Regions from separate parts of the Homo sapiens genome. Here all the other regions are linked to region 2. The links are contacts of gene promoters, found by promoter capture Hi-C in human tissues and cell types (Jung and others, 2019). All regions are on one chromosome and are shown on one strand. Each heading gives the region's core, a stretch centred on a gene start or on the middle of the fragment in contact. The rest is flanking DNA. Distances are from core to core; before and after follow the strand shown. Region 1 overlaps CDC42 (cell division cycle 42). Region 2 holds the start of ZBTB40 (zinc finger and BTB domain containing 40). Region 3 holds the start of WNT4 (Wnt family member 4).

Evidence for each region. The method cuts DNA at HindIII sites, captures the fragments that hold promoters and counts their contacts. A contact is called where the count stands out against the background at its distance.
Region 1: a contact is called between a fragment that was not itself captured here and the fragment with the promoter of ZBTB40 in region 2, in 1 of the 25 tissues and cell types used here (heart left ventricle).
Region 3: a contact is called between the fragment with the promoter of WNT4 here and the fragment with the promoter of ZBTB40 in region 2, in 1 of the 25 tissues and cell types used here (H1 embryonic stem cells).

Annotation. Positions count from the first base shown.
Region 1 is chr1:22,099,181-22,103,841 of GRCh38, reverse strand. It overlaps CDC42 (cell division cycle 42), which reads right to left. Exons shown (of 6, transcript NM_001791.4): 6 at 2,482-4,661. Among named protein-coding and RNA genes, the nearest start is that of WNT4, 42 kb to the left of the region's middle. The HindIII fragment of the contact is 3,633 bases long and covers 996-4,628 here.
Region 2 is chr1:22,450,393-22,455,062 of GRCh38, reverse strand. It overlaps ZBTB40 (zinc finger and BTB domain containing 40), which reads right to left and starts at 3,212. Exons shown (of 18, transcript NM_014870.4): 1 at 3,059-3,212. RefSeq lists silencers at 2,729-2,818, 3,159-3,358, 3,673-3,967 and enhancers at 2,929-3,008, 2,722-3,283. The HindIII fragment of the contact is 15,295 bases long and covers 1-4,670 here.
Region 3 is chr1:22,141,536-22,145,924 of GRCh38, reverse strand. It overlaps WNT4 (Wnt family member 4), which reads left to right and starts at 2,828. Exons shown (of 5, transcript NM_030761.5): 1 at 2,828-3,079. The coding sequence starts at 3,003. The region is part of intron 1 of LOC105376845 (a long non-coding RNA gene); the gene reads right to left. RefSeq lists silencers at 2,409-2,738, 3,301-3,360. The HindIII fragment of the contact is 15,863 bases long and covers 1-4,389 here.

The DNA.
Region 1 (4,661 bases), core at 1,563-4,062, 350 kb after region 2:
TACCAAAGAAAAATGCAGCATGTTAAGAAATAATGGCTGTAAATCACTGTAGGCAGTGACTGAATGTGGCAAAATAATCTACTGACAAACAATTAGATGTGTTCCCAAAGTCACTCCTAGTCACCCTCAATCGGGCAAATCACACTTTGTTTCTTCCTTTTATTATTACTATTATTCCCAGAGGTGCATCAGACCCACCACTGGCCCCACGGGGAAGTACCATTAGCTCCTCCAAGAGTTCTATGAGCTAAAAAGGCACTGGTTACGACTCTCAACCCCACAGTCATGATCCATAGATCACTGGTTACTACAAGGTAACAATTCCTTAGAACCTCTATCAGAAGAGAGCAGGACCAGGCTGGCATAAAAGAACACTGGCCTAAAAACAGAGGCCTGAAGTGTAGTCACCAAACAGCTGTACAACTCTAAGCAAATTGTTTTCCTTCCCAGAGACCATACCCTTATTTTAAAATGTAATGAATTATCACCCTTGGCCTATCCACCTCACAGACTGTGGGAATAAACTGAAAGAACGTGACACACTGTGCAAATGTAAAATCTTGGTCATTATTTTCAGGGAGGAAACACAGGCCTCACCACATTTCAGCACTAGCTGGGGTCTTATCCAGAAGGACTTGAGGGTTCATCAGAAAATACTACTGGGATTGCTTGACAGGTTTTTTGAACTGCATTCCTACCCATCTGAACTATTAAACACAGTCTACAGGAAATGCTTAATTCAAACATATTTGCCATTCGGGCTAGCTCTGTAAGTCTCAAGATCTCTAAGCAGCAAGCTTCCCTCAAGATAATCATACAACAGCTAACAATAATAACCAAACACTGTTGTAAGCACTTTACGCACATGAACTTGTCTAATCCTCATGAAACCCCGTGAGGTGATATTGTTACTATCCTCAAAAGAAAAACATCCAAGTTAAATATCTTGCCCAAGATCACACAGCCAGTAAACAGTGAACCCAAGATTCAAAACCAGGCAGTCTGGCTCTAGAGTCTATGTTTTTAATACTACTCTATACTGGCTCCTACAAAACAGACAAGATATAGATAAGCATTCCTGAAATGAATAAATGCCTAAACAAAAGTAAATCACAGTGACAAATTACCATTTTGTACCCACTACCATTATAAAATTGGCTGTTCTTCTATGAGAATTCCCTATCAGACAAAGCTTTGTCTATCCTCTTGTCCGAGTGCTTATTGGAGGAGAGTACCTTATCCCTAAATCCTAATGACAACTCTGCAGAATTGGCTCGATTTTACAGATGTGTAAATCAAGACTCAAAAACTAAAGCAGTTTGCCCAAACACAGCTAGTCATTAACAGAGCCAGATTCAAAGTTAGGGCCTTCTACTCCAAAATATATGTGCTTTTCCTACTATTTAATACAGTTTTTCTCTTTAAAATCAAAAAGTTCTACATAGAACTGGCACTAGAATGATTCCTGAAACATGAACAACAGGAAATATGCTATTTTATATAAATTGTAATGAAGAATGCCAGGATACTTACAAGAAGGGAAACAGATAAGTCTGTGTAAAGGGATCTAGTTTCACCACTGAATTATATTTATGCTTGGATCCTACTAGTATTCCCAAAAGGAAGTGATCCATAAGGTAGGAAAATATCCTGTCTGCCGCTGTTAAGAAGCCGTATTTGGCCAGGCCCAGTGGCTCACGCCTGTAATCCCAGCACTTTGAGAGGTCGAGGCGGGAGGATCACCTGAGGTTGGGAGTTCGAGACCAGCCTGACCAACATGGAGAAACCCCGTCTCTACTAAAAATACCAAAAAATGAGCTGGGCGTGGTGGCACATGCCTGTAATCCCAGCTACTCAGGAAGCTGAGGCAGGAGAACTGCTTGAACCTTCGAGGTGGAAGTTGCAGTGAGCCAAGATCACGCCATTGCACTCCAGCCTGGGCAACAAGAGCGGAACTTCGTCTCAAAAAAAAAAAGCAGCCGTATTTATCCTATAAACAAAAACCAACTCGGTCTTTACTGGTTACTGCTATACATTTTTTTTAAAACTACAGACTGAACCAAACTTAGAATCTCTCAACTATATCAGTAAAAATCTAAAAAGATTCTCCATATAGGGATAATAATCACAAAATTCTTGAAGACTCACTAGTCTACTTGTATATTTAGTATACAGGTTTTATAGATTTTTGTTAACTACCTGTCAATAGCTAGCAAAAAATCCTGAAACTTAAGAGGCTACAGAAATGAACCTGCACCAGTCGTGTTCAAATCCCTTGGCAACACCTTAGAGGTTACTAGGGCTGCACAAAGTTTATCTCTGTTTGCAACAAGGAGGCAGTGGGAAGAGTAAAGCTGCTGGGCCTGCATTAACTACAGCAACTCTGTTTCATACACCTTTTCTGTTTCTACAGTGGGGCTCTATATAAGCTTTTGTTTATGAAAAAGAAGGCCTACTGAAAAAAAGACACAAACCAAAAAGGAACAGAAACTCATTTTATTGAGATGAGGAAACCAAGGCCCAAAAAGGTATGGCAACTTGCCCAAGGAAACTCTGGTGCCTCAACTAGAACCTGGATCTTCAACTTCCAACTGAGAGCTCTTTCCAACAGTGTTATTACTACCATGGGAGAAATGAAGATATAGTATCAAACACCATAATGCAAGTTAGGAGCAAAAACAGGACTTGATTTATCACGCTATATGTACCAGGGTTCACGGAGTTTTCTAGCAGCAGAGGAGATAATCACAAACTCAGCACCCTCCAGTAAAGTCATTCTTACAAGAAGCCAGTGAAGAATTCACAGGTGCCTGCCCACCCTTCACAAGCTGCCAAGAGATGGACCTAACTCCTTAACACCAATAATTCCAATACAATTGTGAAATCCTCAAGTTATGGAGAAAAAGGAGCATTTCTTTAAGAGCTTCAGAATCAAGACAAAAAAAATCCCTCTCCCATCAAACTAGTGCAAACCTTACAAAGGAGGGCTAAGAAGCTAGCACTGGGGCCCCATGGTGGGTCTGGAACTCCATACACATTTCCAGCCCTATCAGAGTTGGTTAGAGATGAAATTAAAAGCCTTACTCTACTCCTGGCAATGAGTATGAGGAGGAAGCCCCTCACTGATACAGCAGTTTAAGACCCAGAAGTCAACAGGGTTTTCTGGTCCTGATTTGATGTGAGCCAACAATGATGACAGTGATGAAGACAGCTGCTATCTACCCCATTCACAGATGAGTACCTTCTACTTGCCAGGCACTATGCTAAGAACCTCACATATAGCAATTCATGTCACTCTCACAACTCTTGGGCAAAGTACAGCTATTTCCACTTCACAGAGAATGCAACACTCAGAGCATTTAAGTTACTTGCCTGAAGACATAGATCAAGTTAGTGGCAGAGCCAAACTCAAATCCAAAGCCTATGCATGTACTTCGCACAACACCAACAATGCCAAGTTGTTTCGCCTCAGTTTTACCATTTGACAAATGACATCATCCATCCCTGCCTCTTTTACAGAGTTGTACTGAGGTCAAGTGAAATCACTAATACAAACATGACTTGAAGTTTAGGAGTTTACTACTTAAACTCAAAAACTGCATGAGTATCCCTGACCGTTTGCAGAGAAGATGAAGGCAGAGCCCCAGTCATCTCCCTGTGCTTGGGTCAAGCTAATGAAAGAAGGGAGCCAGGTTGCAGAGCTGGCTCCAAGCCTCCCTCAGACCTTGGGTATTCACTAAGGTGCAACTTTCTCACCAAACAAACCCTGCTCTTCCCAACTCACAGGCCTATTATACAAAAAAAAAAAAAAAGAAGAAGAAGAAGAAGAAAGAAAAAAAGGCCAGCTGAGCAGACTCTAGAGACAGACTGCTTAAATTCAAATCCCAGTTCCCTCACTTACTAGCTCTGAATTCTTGGACAAGCTAGCTCTGAATTCTTGGACAAGCTTTGTATCATAACATGCCTCAGTTTCCACATATGAAAAAATGGGGGATTGCTGAGAAGACTGAGTTAATTCACACAAAGGCTTAAAAGAGTGCCATGTAGAGAATAAACACTCAAATTTTAAGAAGGACCAAATGACACAATGGGCAAAGGCACCCTACAATCCTCTAAAGCTACACCTTTAGATCCTCTAAAGGAAGAAGGTGTCATATTCTCTCATGCTACAACTGATCCTAAAGTCACCTCCCCCAAAAAGCTCCTACCCAACAAACCTACCCTTACAGATGAAGCCTTTTATGCTGCTTTGCTTGCCCTGTGCACTATATGATGCTTCAACTACGATTTTCAGCTTTGTAATTAATCATATACATTTTATTTCCACATAAGATATGTAATGGTAAGCACACAGTTTCCAAAATCAGACAGATAGGATTTCCAACTCTGGCTGCATATACCAAGCAATTATGATGTCTCAGAGTCCTGCTCCATAAAAAGAAGATACCTGTACTATCAACCTCAGAGCTGTTGTGAGTAGCAAGTGTGATAACACCATGTGCTTAACACAGTGCAAAGGCACACAGTAAGAGCTCAATTAACAAAGCTGTTATTTCGCCAGAATATGTCCCCATTTCTTTTATGATTCTCAGCAGTTAGGGCAGAGCCCTCCTGGATGTGATTAATATTCCTTCCTTAATGCACCAATTTATTTATGGGGG
Region 2 (4,670 bases), core at 1,963-4,462:
CATTTGGAAAAGTTCCTCTCCAAGCAGAAACACTAAGAAAAAACAAGATCTGCTCCCCTCTTTCTGGAGATAGAAAGTAGAGGGCTTCTATTTTTAATTGGATTCCCCCATTCTTAATTTTGTCTGTAATGTATTTCTGGATTTTTGTTATTAGTTAGCACTTTATAAAGTTTCCATTTGGAGCTAAATTTGGTTATTCAGCAATATGTGTAACAACAACAAAAAGAAAATACCATAGCTATGAATACAGTTTCTCTTATTTAATCTGCACAACCCTTTGAGGAGGCACCATTATCCACATTTTCCAGGTCAGATAACTAATCTGTAACTTGCCCTTGGGCGTGCAGTTCTCTCAGTAGTAGCTGGGTTCACGGCCAGGGACTGAGCACAGGAGTGAACCACAGCACAGTGACTCCCTTTGAGTTCTCCAACATCTCACGTTGTTACCCACCTTAGTCTCTGAACCTGCTGAAAAGTTCTTCCTCCCAGCTTCGTCTCTCCCTTTCCCCTTCTTGCTAGACTGGTTCCTTGTCACTCAACAAGTTTCAGCTTAAACTGCCTTTCTTAAGAGAGGTTTTCCCTGACCACCCAGATAAAAAGTGAGTCTCCCAGGTTAGTGTCTCTCTCCGTGCTGTTTTATTTCCTTTAGAGCAGTTGCCACAATTTGGAATAACTTTGTTATTTCTTTACTGTCTTGACACTAGGCTTTAGCTTCCAGAACAGAGCCCCAGGTCCATCTTGCTCACCCTGGTAATCACAGGACCTAGACAGTGGTGCTTGGTACATGGAGACACTAAAATATTTGTTCGAGGCCGGGCGCGATGGCTCACGCCTATAATCCCAGCACTTTGGGAGGCTGAGGCGGGCAGATCACTTGAGGTCAAGACTTCAAGACCAGCCTGAACAACATGGTGAAACTCTGTCTCTACTAAAAACACACAAAAAATTAGCCGGGTGTCGTGGCACATGCCTGTAGTCCCAGCCATTCAGGAGGTTGAGGCAGAAGAATCACTTGAACCCGGGAGGCGGAGGTTGCAGTGAGCCGAGATTGTGCCACTGCACTCCAGCCTGGGCAACACAGCGAGACTCTGTCTCAAAAAAATAAATAAAATAAAATAAAATAAAAATTTGTTCAATGAATGACCTAGATTTGTTTACTTGGTATTTACCTGCAAACACCAGGTTGTGGGTACTGGCTAGCAGCTGAGGATAACAACAGTAAGGTGTGGTCCCTGCCCTTAAGGACCTCCTAAGCTAGTAGGAAAGACAATAAACAGATGGAACAATACAGGGTGTTCAGTGTGATCAGATTAGCTTCAGCTCTCAGCTGAATGCCTTAGCTATGTAACCTCGAACATCTCTCCGACGTGAGTTTGTTTCCTCTATGCGTAAAATGGTAATATTAATACTACTTATGTCATAGTATTGGTGTGAGGATTAAGTGATAGTCCATATAAATAAAGCACTTAGCACAGTACCTGGCACAAAATAATCACTCAGTAAATAGCAACTAATAATTTTATTATGATGATGCTATTACAGCTGTATTTGAAATTATCTTTGTCTACCTGTATACCACTTGTCCAAGCCCCACATAGAATTTAAATTCCATGGAAGGGCAGAAATCATATTTGTCTTGTTCACCACTGTATTTCCAGGAATTTGAAACGTCTCTGGTACACAGTAAGTGCTCAACAAACACTAAATGATTAATGAATGCATGCGTACATGCATGGGGTGTTCTGAAACCATTTGTTAAACCACTAATGAATAGCTAAGTTTGGGGACTACTGACATAGAAGAAAAGTGTTTATATTAGAAAGGAGGGGCAGAAGTTTGATGATTTAGCTAAGTAGAAAAAAATTTCACTGAGATTGTAATTAAATCTCCATTAACCATACAAAGATCTGGGTACAATTCCAGGGAAGAACAAACAATTCCAGGTAGAAAAGACTTGAAAGAATAAAATCCAAAGCAGTTTGACCGGTGCCATCAGGCAGGGGGCTCCCAGGGACAGGCTCAATTTGGCAGCCCTATAACCTAGTACACCTATACATATATTAACCACTCAGAACAAATTTCTTCCTCGTTTGTAAAATGGAAATACCATACTTACTTATAAAGCGTCGTCATAAAGTAGAACAACACTTGTATGAATATAAATAAAGCACCTGGTTCATTGCAGCACTGGCTGCATGGTACCAACGCTATTCAAAGCAGGAGAAACTCTGAATAGTCAGTAAGACCAGAAGGGAAGCCAGAGTGTTCTGTCAACTAAAGTGCTCTCGGTGCATCGCGCAGTTTTAACTCTTTTCCCACTCCAGAAGAACCGACGAGAGGAATAGCTGAATGACAACACTGATCCAATCTCCTTGTGTTTAGGGCAGGGGTCAGTAAACTTTTGCTGTAAGGGACCAGACAGAAATATTTCTGGCTTTGTGAGCCAGCCGATCAAAGCCAAGCAACGGCTGCGCAACTACTCAGCTCTGCCCTCTTGGCAGGAAAGCAGCCATAGACAATACATCAACAATGAACAGGGCCGTGTTCCAATAAAACTTCATTTATGGACTTGATTTCATAGAACTTTCGCAAATTACATGAAATATTCTTCCCCCTAACCATTTGCAACTGTAAACAAAGACCGAGAGGGGAAGAGAGAAGGGGGGCATGGATTAGGCCCAAGGCCATAGTCCGCTGACGCCCGGCGAAGGGACCTGAAGGGAGGGGGAGTGAGACAGCGACAAGAGGCCTCCGGACGGGCCGAGAGGGAGGTGCGGGGCGACAGCGAGCCCCAGGCGGTGTCAGGTCGGGCCTGGCGCCCTGAGTGGGTCCCCGCGGTCTCTCCCCTCCGCAGTCTACAGCAGAGCCGGCGCCAGGGGTGCGGACCGCCCCTGGAGGGGGCACGTCCGGGGTGTAGGTGAGGCGGCCGTGATTCGGCCGAGTCCCGCGGAGTTCGCCACGCGGAAGGGTCTGTATACACCCCTCATTTAGGGCGCACCCGGGCCCCCGCTGCAGGAAGGGTCTCCACGCGGAGTCCCAGCCCCGTTTCTATGGTTACCTGTTCAGCACCGATTCAAACTGCCGTTCTTTATTGACAGCGCCATAGAGGACACGAACACTCCTGCCCGAAGGGAACAATAAAGCTTTCGCCATTCAACAGCGCCGGAGACGCCAGAAGGCGGCCATCTTGAGGCCGGCGCGCAATGGGTATCAGAGGGGAGGGGGCGGCCCGACCTGCCCCACGCGCCGCGGTCACGTGCTGGGGGCGGGGCCTGCGTCACGCGCTCGCTCTCCACCTATGCTAGGACGGCGGGGGCCGGCTGGTTGCTAGGCTCTTCTCTGACCTCTGACCTTGGCCACTCCCTCCTTCCCTCCCCACACTTCCTAAGTAAAGTTTTTTTCTTTTTTTTTTTTTTGAGATGGGAGATTCGCTCTTGTTTCCCAGGCTGGAGTGTAGCGGCGCGATCTCGCCCCACTGCAGCCTCCGCCTTCCAGGTTCAAGCGATTCTCCTGCCTCAGCCTCCCGAGTAGCTGGGATTACAGGCGCGCGCCACCACGCCCTGCTAATTTTTTTTTTCTCTTCTATTTTTAGTAGAGACAGGATGTCACCATGTTGGCCAGGCTGGTCCCGAACTCCTGAGCCCAGATGATCCACCTGCCTCGGCCTCCCACCATGCCCGGCCCTAAGGAAAGTTCTAATGGAGCTCCGCAGTCTCGCTCCGGCAGCTCTAGGATTAGGATTTTGTTTCAAAGGAGGGCAAGGAAGTGAACACAAAAGGCTTCGTTTTTCCAAAACAACACATTCACGTGCGAGGCGGAGAGGCGACCTGAGCCGCGTCCCCAGCCCGCACTCTTTGTGGGACAGGCTTGGCGCTGGTGGGGCGCAGTGGGCTGAAGGCATCCTGGAGGCATCCTGATCCTGCCTCTCGCACCTCCCAATTTTGGGATTTAGGGGCTTTGGGATTTAGTCCTAGCTTTTCTTTTGCTCATTTTCCTTCTCACACACTATGCGTTCCCTGTTGAAGCGTCCCCTTGCCACCCTTCCTTACACAAACATTTAAATCAGATCCAGCAGTAACAAACTGAGTCACCTCCGCGCTGGCCCACTGAACACAGTCACCCTGTCACTGACATGCAGCCACTTTTTCTGTCCCTGACAGTTACGTGCCCAAATCCAGCCATCTTAGTGCAATGTCCAGCTTCCTCTGTGGTTATACCTTTTCCATCTGCAATGTCAATATTCAGTCGTTCTGAGAGCTGTCTCTGGCTGACTGACTCACCCCATCACCGTTTTACATCACAAATTCAATCTACTGGGCAGAACTGTCACTTGCATTGTTGCTGTCTCCCGGTCGATCATATTTACTGTCACTGTCTGACATGCAGCTACCGTCATTGACCATAAACTTCAAACGGTTCTGTTCAAAATAGCACTTTGTTTGCCCAGCTGTTGCCCTTTCTGTTGTTTTCACTGTCATTGTCATGCAGCCACTTTTGCTGCCACACAGTCAAGCCAGTATTTAACAGGCCCCTTCAGGGTACACTGTTGTCCTCATACCCTTGTGCCCAGTTAGTCACTTTCACTATTATACTCATGTCACCGTTACATTCAGGGTCGGATTTACTGTAGCTGTTATTTAGTCACTTTTGTAGTAACTGGAACCACGCCT
Region 3 (4,389 bases), core at 1,579-4,078, 310 kb after region 2:
AAAAAAAAAAAAAGAATTTCCACTGACTCAGAGCAAAGGGCTCCTCCTCTCCATTATCACAGCACAGCTCAGGGAGACACTTTCTGATGGCTCCAGTTCTCTCCCTCCTGGGCTCAGCTTGATCCTGCTCGTGGGGCTCACACACACCCACTCATATGCATCTCCCAGCACCCCAGGAGAAGGCAAGCCAGGTAACATTGTTCCCACCTGATGGATACAGAAACTGAAGGTCCTGCAGCTTCCCAAAGGTCAAGTGTCATGTGCTTTGGGACAGGGGCTTAAGCCCAAACACCTGAGTCCCAGGCTCAGGATGGTATGGGAGCCGGGGATGTGGCTCTGGAGTCCCAGGTCCACCACTTTCCTTAAGCAAGTAACCTGGTGTCTTCATCTGTAAAATGAGGGTGATAACAGTACGTACTTCCTAGATTTGTTGCAACGATTGAATGAGTCAAAGCGTGTAAAGCACTAAGAACAGTGCCTGACATACCAGGGCACAACATTTGAGTGGCACAGTGCATCCTAGGTGGCCTGGCACAGTCTTGGTCTATGCCTGGTAGCCTGGCAAATCTTCCAGTTAGAGCCCCCCGTCACTCTTGAAAACATCCTGGTTTGGAAGAAAATTATATGGCCATCCTAACATAATTACCTGTTGCCATCTAAATTATTATCGTTGTTATTATTATTTTCCACCATACCATACTGAGTCTCCAGGAAGTGAATATGCTGGTTCAAAATAGGTCAGCACTTCAGTACCACCCTTAAACACAGGTGAGAGTGGCCCCTGCCCTGGGGACCCCCCCAGTCTGGCCCTCCTCCAGCTAACCTCTCATCACAAGGAGGGAAGACCATGGGACAAGGGGACATGCCCACCTGGAACTTGTGGCACCTCCACTAGAGCATACTCTGGGTGCCCAGGCCCCTGGGGTTCCCTGCAGAGATGGCCCTTAGCCCACTGCCAGGACCTGCGTGGGTCTCTTCCGCAGATCCAGCCCGAGGACAGAGTACACCACTGGCGTGCCCAGCCCTAAGCCTGAGGGGCTACCAAGGGGCTGAGCTTGCATGTGCAGGCTGAGATGTTCATGAATGTGCACAAGACTCTCGAAGGACAGGACAGAGGCAGAGGTAGGAAAAGGTAGGGGGCAGGGGCCCAGGCCAGGCACTAGGGGCCCCCTCTCCCTGTGCCACCAGCTCCAGGGCAAGGTCTGAGGAGTATGAGAATGCCACACTCAAAGCCAGCTTTCTGCCTTGTTAGGAAAGTGTATTTGTCAAGATAGAAGAATAGAACATAATTTATTTTGCATTTTGTTAGCTTGATTTATAGCCTGCAAATATTTGGACATATGGTATGTGAACCTCCATCTATACTCTTGCCCAGCCCCACAAATCCCTGCCACGTTCCACCCAGTCCCAATACCAAATGTTTACTGAGCCCTTCCTCTGTTCTGAGCCCAGGGGACCCCAGGGCACCATCCCAGCACCCAAACATGATGGCCTCTGTGGGAGCAAACTTCATACTCCAAAATCAGTGAAGAACTAAGATCAGGGGGTGAGGGCATAGACCTGGTCCTTGCCTCTGTTCCCAACCCCTAGGGAGGTGGGACAGGTGCCTCCCTTTCCGGGCCTTAGTTTTACTGTTTAGATAAGAGGTCCCTCTACCTGTGAGCAGCTGGGGGATGCAGCCTGGAGGATGAGTAGCACACAGAATCAGATCAGTGACCTGAGAGGGTGTGGCGTGGACTTGGGCAGACAATTCTTAGGGGTTACAGTGATGTGGAATTGAGCTCTCTGGACTAGCCAAGCACAGGCTGTTGCAGCCCATTCCATTCCATTCATTTATTCCTTCCACAAACATGGCAGGCACCGCCCTGTGCCCAAAACAAACAAGAGGCTGAATCTGCCTAGTATGGGAGGATAAATCGAACAAGCACATAGAAAACCAAATGCAAAGTAAGACTTGGTGAGTGAGCCAAGAGAGCTTCCCTAAACTCCTCCTGTCCTCCCAATCACAGCGTCTTAAGCCCACTTCCCGGATGAGAAAACGGAGGCTCAGAGTCAAGACCCTGCTGCCTGGGGCGCGCCCAGACCTTGTGGCTAGCCAGAAGCGAGGTTTCGGATTCCCACAGTCTCGGGCCACTGTCCCAAGCTGCCCAAAGCTGGGGAGGCCCCGTCCAGCTCCCGGAAGGCTGTAGGGAGGTGAGCGCCAGGGAGGGGCTGGGCCGCAGGACGCGGGGGCCAGGAGGCAGGGAGGGGCCGGGCGGGGGGCGGTCGGGAGACATCCAGCGCCCCGATGTGCAGCCCCAGGCACCCGGAGCGCCAGCGCCTGGGTGCGCGCGAGTGGTAGCCGCGCTCCGGTGGGTCCGCCGCGGTCGGACCGGGGTCTGGGCTCCAGGCGCCGGCGGGGGGCGGTGGGGGGGGTAGGGGGACAGCGAGGGCCGCGCTGCAGTGCCCGCAGCGGCGGGTTGGGGGAGCTGTGCCCGCCTGTCCCCTAGGCCCGGGCGGCGGCCGGGCAGCTGGGTCGCCGCGCCTCTAGCCGGGCCGGGCTCGGCGGCGCGCAGCCAGGCGTGCCTGGAGCGGGCTCGGGCCCCAAGTCCTCCGGAGCGCCCAGCCGGGGAGGCCCCGGGAGCAGCCCAGTCCCGCGGGCTAAGGCGGCAGCCGCCGCCGCTCCGGCCCGCCCCCGGGGGGGTGTCCCGGGCCGCTGGGCCCGCCCAGGTAACCCCATCCTCGGCCCGCCCCCGGCCCGCCCCCCCGGCCGCCCGCCCGCCCGCCCGCCTCCGCCGCCGCCGCCGCCGCCGCCGCCGCCGCATCCCGGCTCTGGGGCGGCGCTGACAGTCTGGTCCGCGCCGGGCAGCGGGCGCAGCAGCGGGCAGGCTGCCGGCAGGCACACGGAGGCAGAGCCCCGCCGCGCGCGCCCCGGCCCGCCCGCGGGCGCCCACCTGCAGCCCCGACGGGAGGCCCCCCGCGGCCGCAGCCGCTGCCCCGGGCCGGGCGCCCGCGGCGGCACCATGAGTCCCCGCTCGTGCCTGCGTTCGCTGCGCCTCCTCGTCTTCGCCGTCTTCTCAGCCGCCGCGAGCAACTGGCTGTAAGTCTGGCCGGGGCCGAGCGGGGCGGGGCGGGGCGGGGCAGGCCCCGGGGGCAGCGGCCGGTGCCAGGCGGCGCGGGGCAGCGGGCGCGGGGCAGCCCGGCAGGTGTCTCGGCCGCGGGACCGGAGGCTCGCTCGCTCCGCTGCCGCCGCCACGGCCCGAACGTCCCTCTGCACACCCGGGGTCCCCTCCTGCCCGGGTCCGGCTCCCTGCCCAGAGGCGTCAGGGGTGGCTGTGGCGGCGTCCGCACCGGTAGGCGGCTCGGGGCTCTCGAGGGCGCCAGGGGTGCGAGCGCGGGGCGGTGGCCCGGGAGGGGCGCCGGACGCGGGTTGCAGTCCAGCCGGGCTGACAGGTCGCTGAGGAAGCCCATTGCAGGGAAGGGCTCCGGGACATAATAGCAGGTTAATCCCGAGAAGTCCGGAGCGAGCTCCCAGCGCCGAGCTGCGCCGAGCTGCGCCGCGCTGCGGGCTGGGCTGGAGGCGTGCAGGGACCTGTTTCTGCTTGGGGGGCGGGAGCCGGAGACAGAAGGAAGGGACCAGGACGCCTGGTCTCCCAGGGCCCGGGGCTGGCGCTGGCGCTGGCCGGGCCTTGGTTTTTCCCCGGGGCAGGAAGAAACTCCGTCCAGACCTTAAAGAAGACAACGGCCCCCCAGCTCCCCGTGTCTAGCCTAAGGAGGAAGGGGTGGTAACCGCTGGTGACCTGTCTGTTTCTCCTTGACTGGATCTGCGCTCAGGGCGCTCCCTGGGTAGGGGCGGAAGGTTTGCTGCAGGGAGGGAGACTAAAGGGATGAGCTCCAGTGAGTGGGTGGACAGGGAGCAAGCGGACCCGCGCTCCTTTCATCCCCGCTCAGGGACAGTTCCCCATGCCCCGCGCTTAACCCTGGCCCCAGTTCCTCCTGCCCAGAGCTCTGCCACCATCCGCTGTGGGCAGCCAGTGGGGAGCCAAGCTCCAATATTGATCTGAAAAGCATGGGGTGGGAAGGGGGATCGCCAACAGTGTAGCTGGGGTTTCCATGGAGACAGGGAGAGAGGAAAAAATTCTCTCTGCATCAAGACCAAAGAACAAATATCTCCCATGAAATTGCCCCGAGTGTCCAATGGCTGTTGCTATGAGGTCATTGTGGCCAGCCAGAGCCCTCCAGGCTGGAAGGAGTGTGTTCGTTGGGGTCAGAGCCACCCAGGGCTTGGGGGACGGAGGTGATGTGGAATTCTCCCAGCTGTTCCGAGAGCAAACGACTCCAAGGCAGCCCGAAGTGGCTGCGGAGCTTTTGTTTTTCTTGGAGCCTTAATTTGATTAACACTTCAGGAGC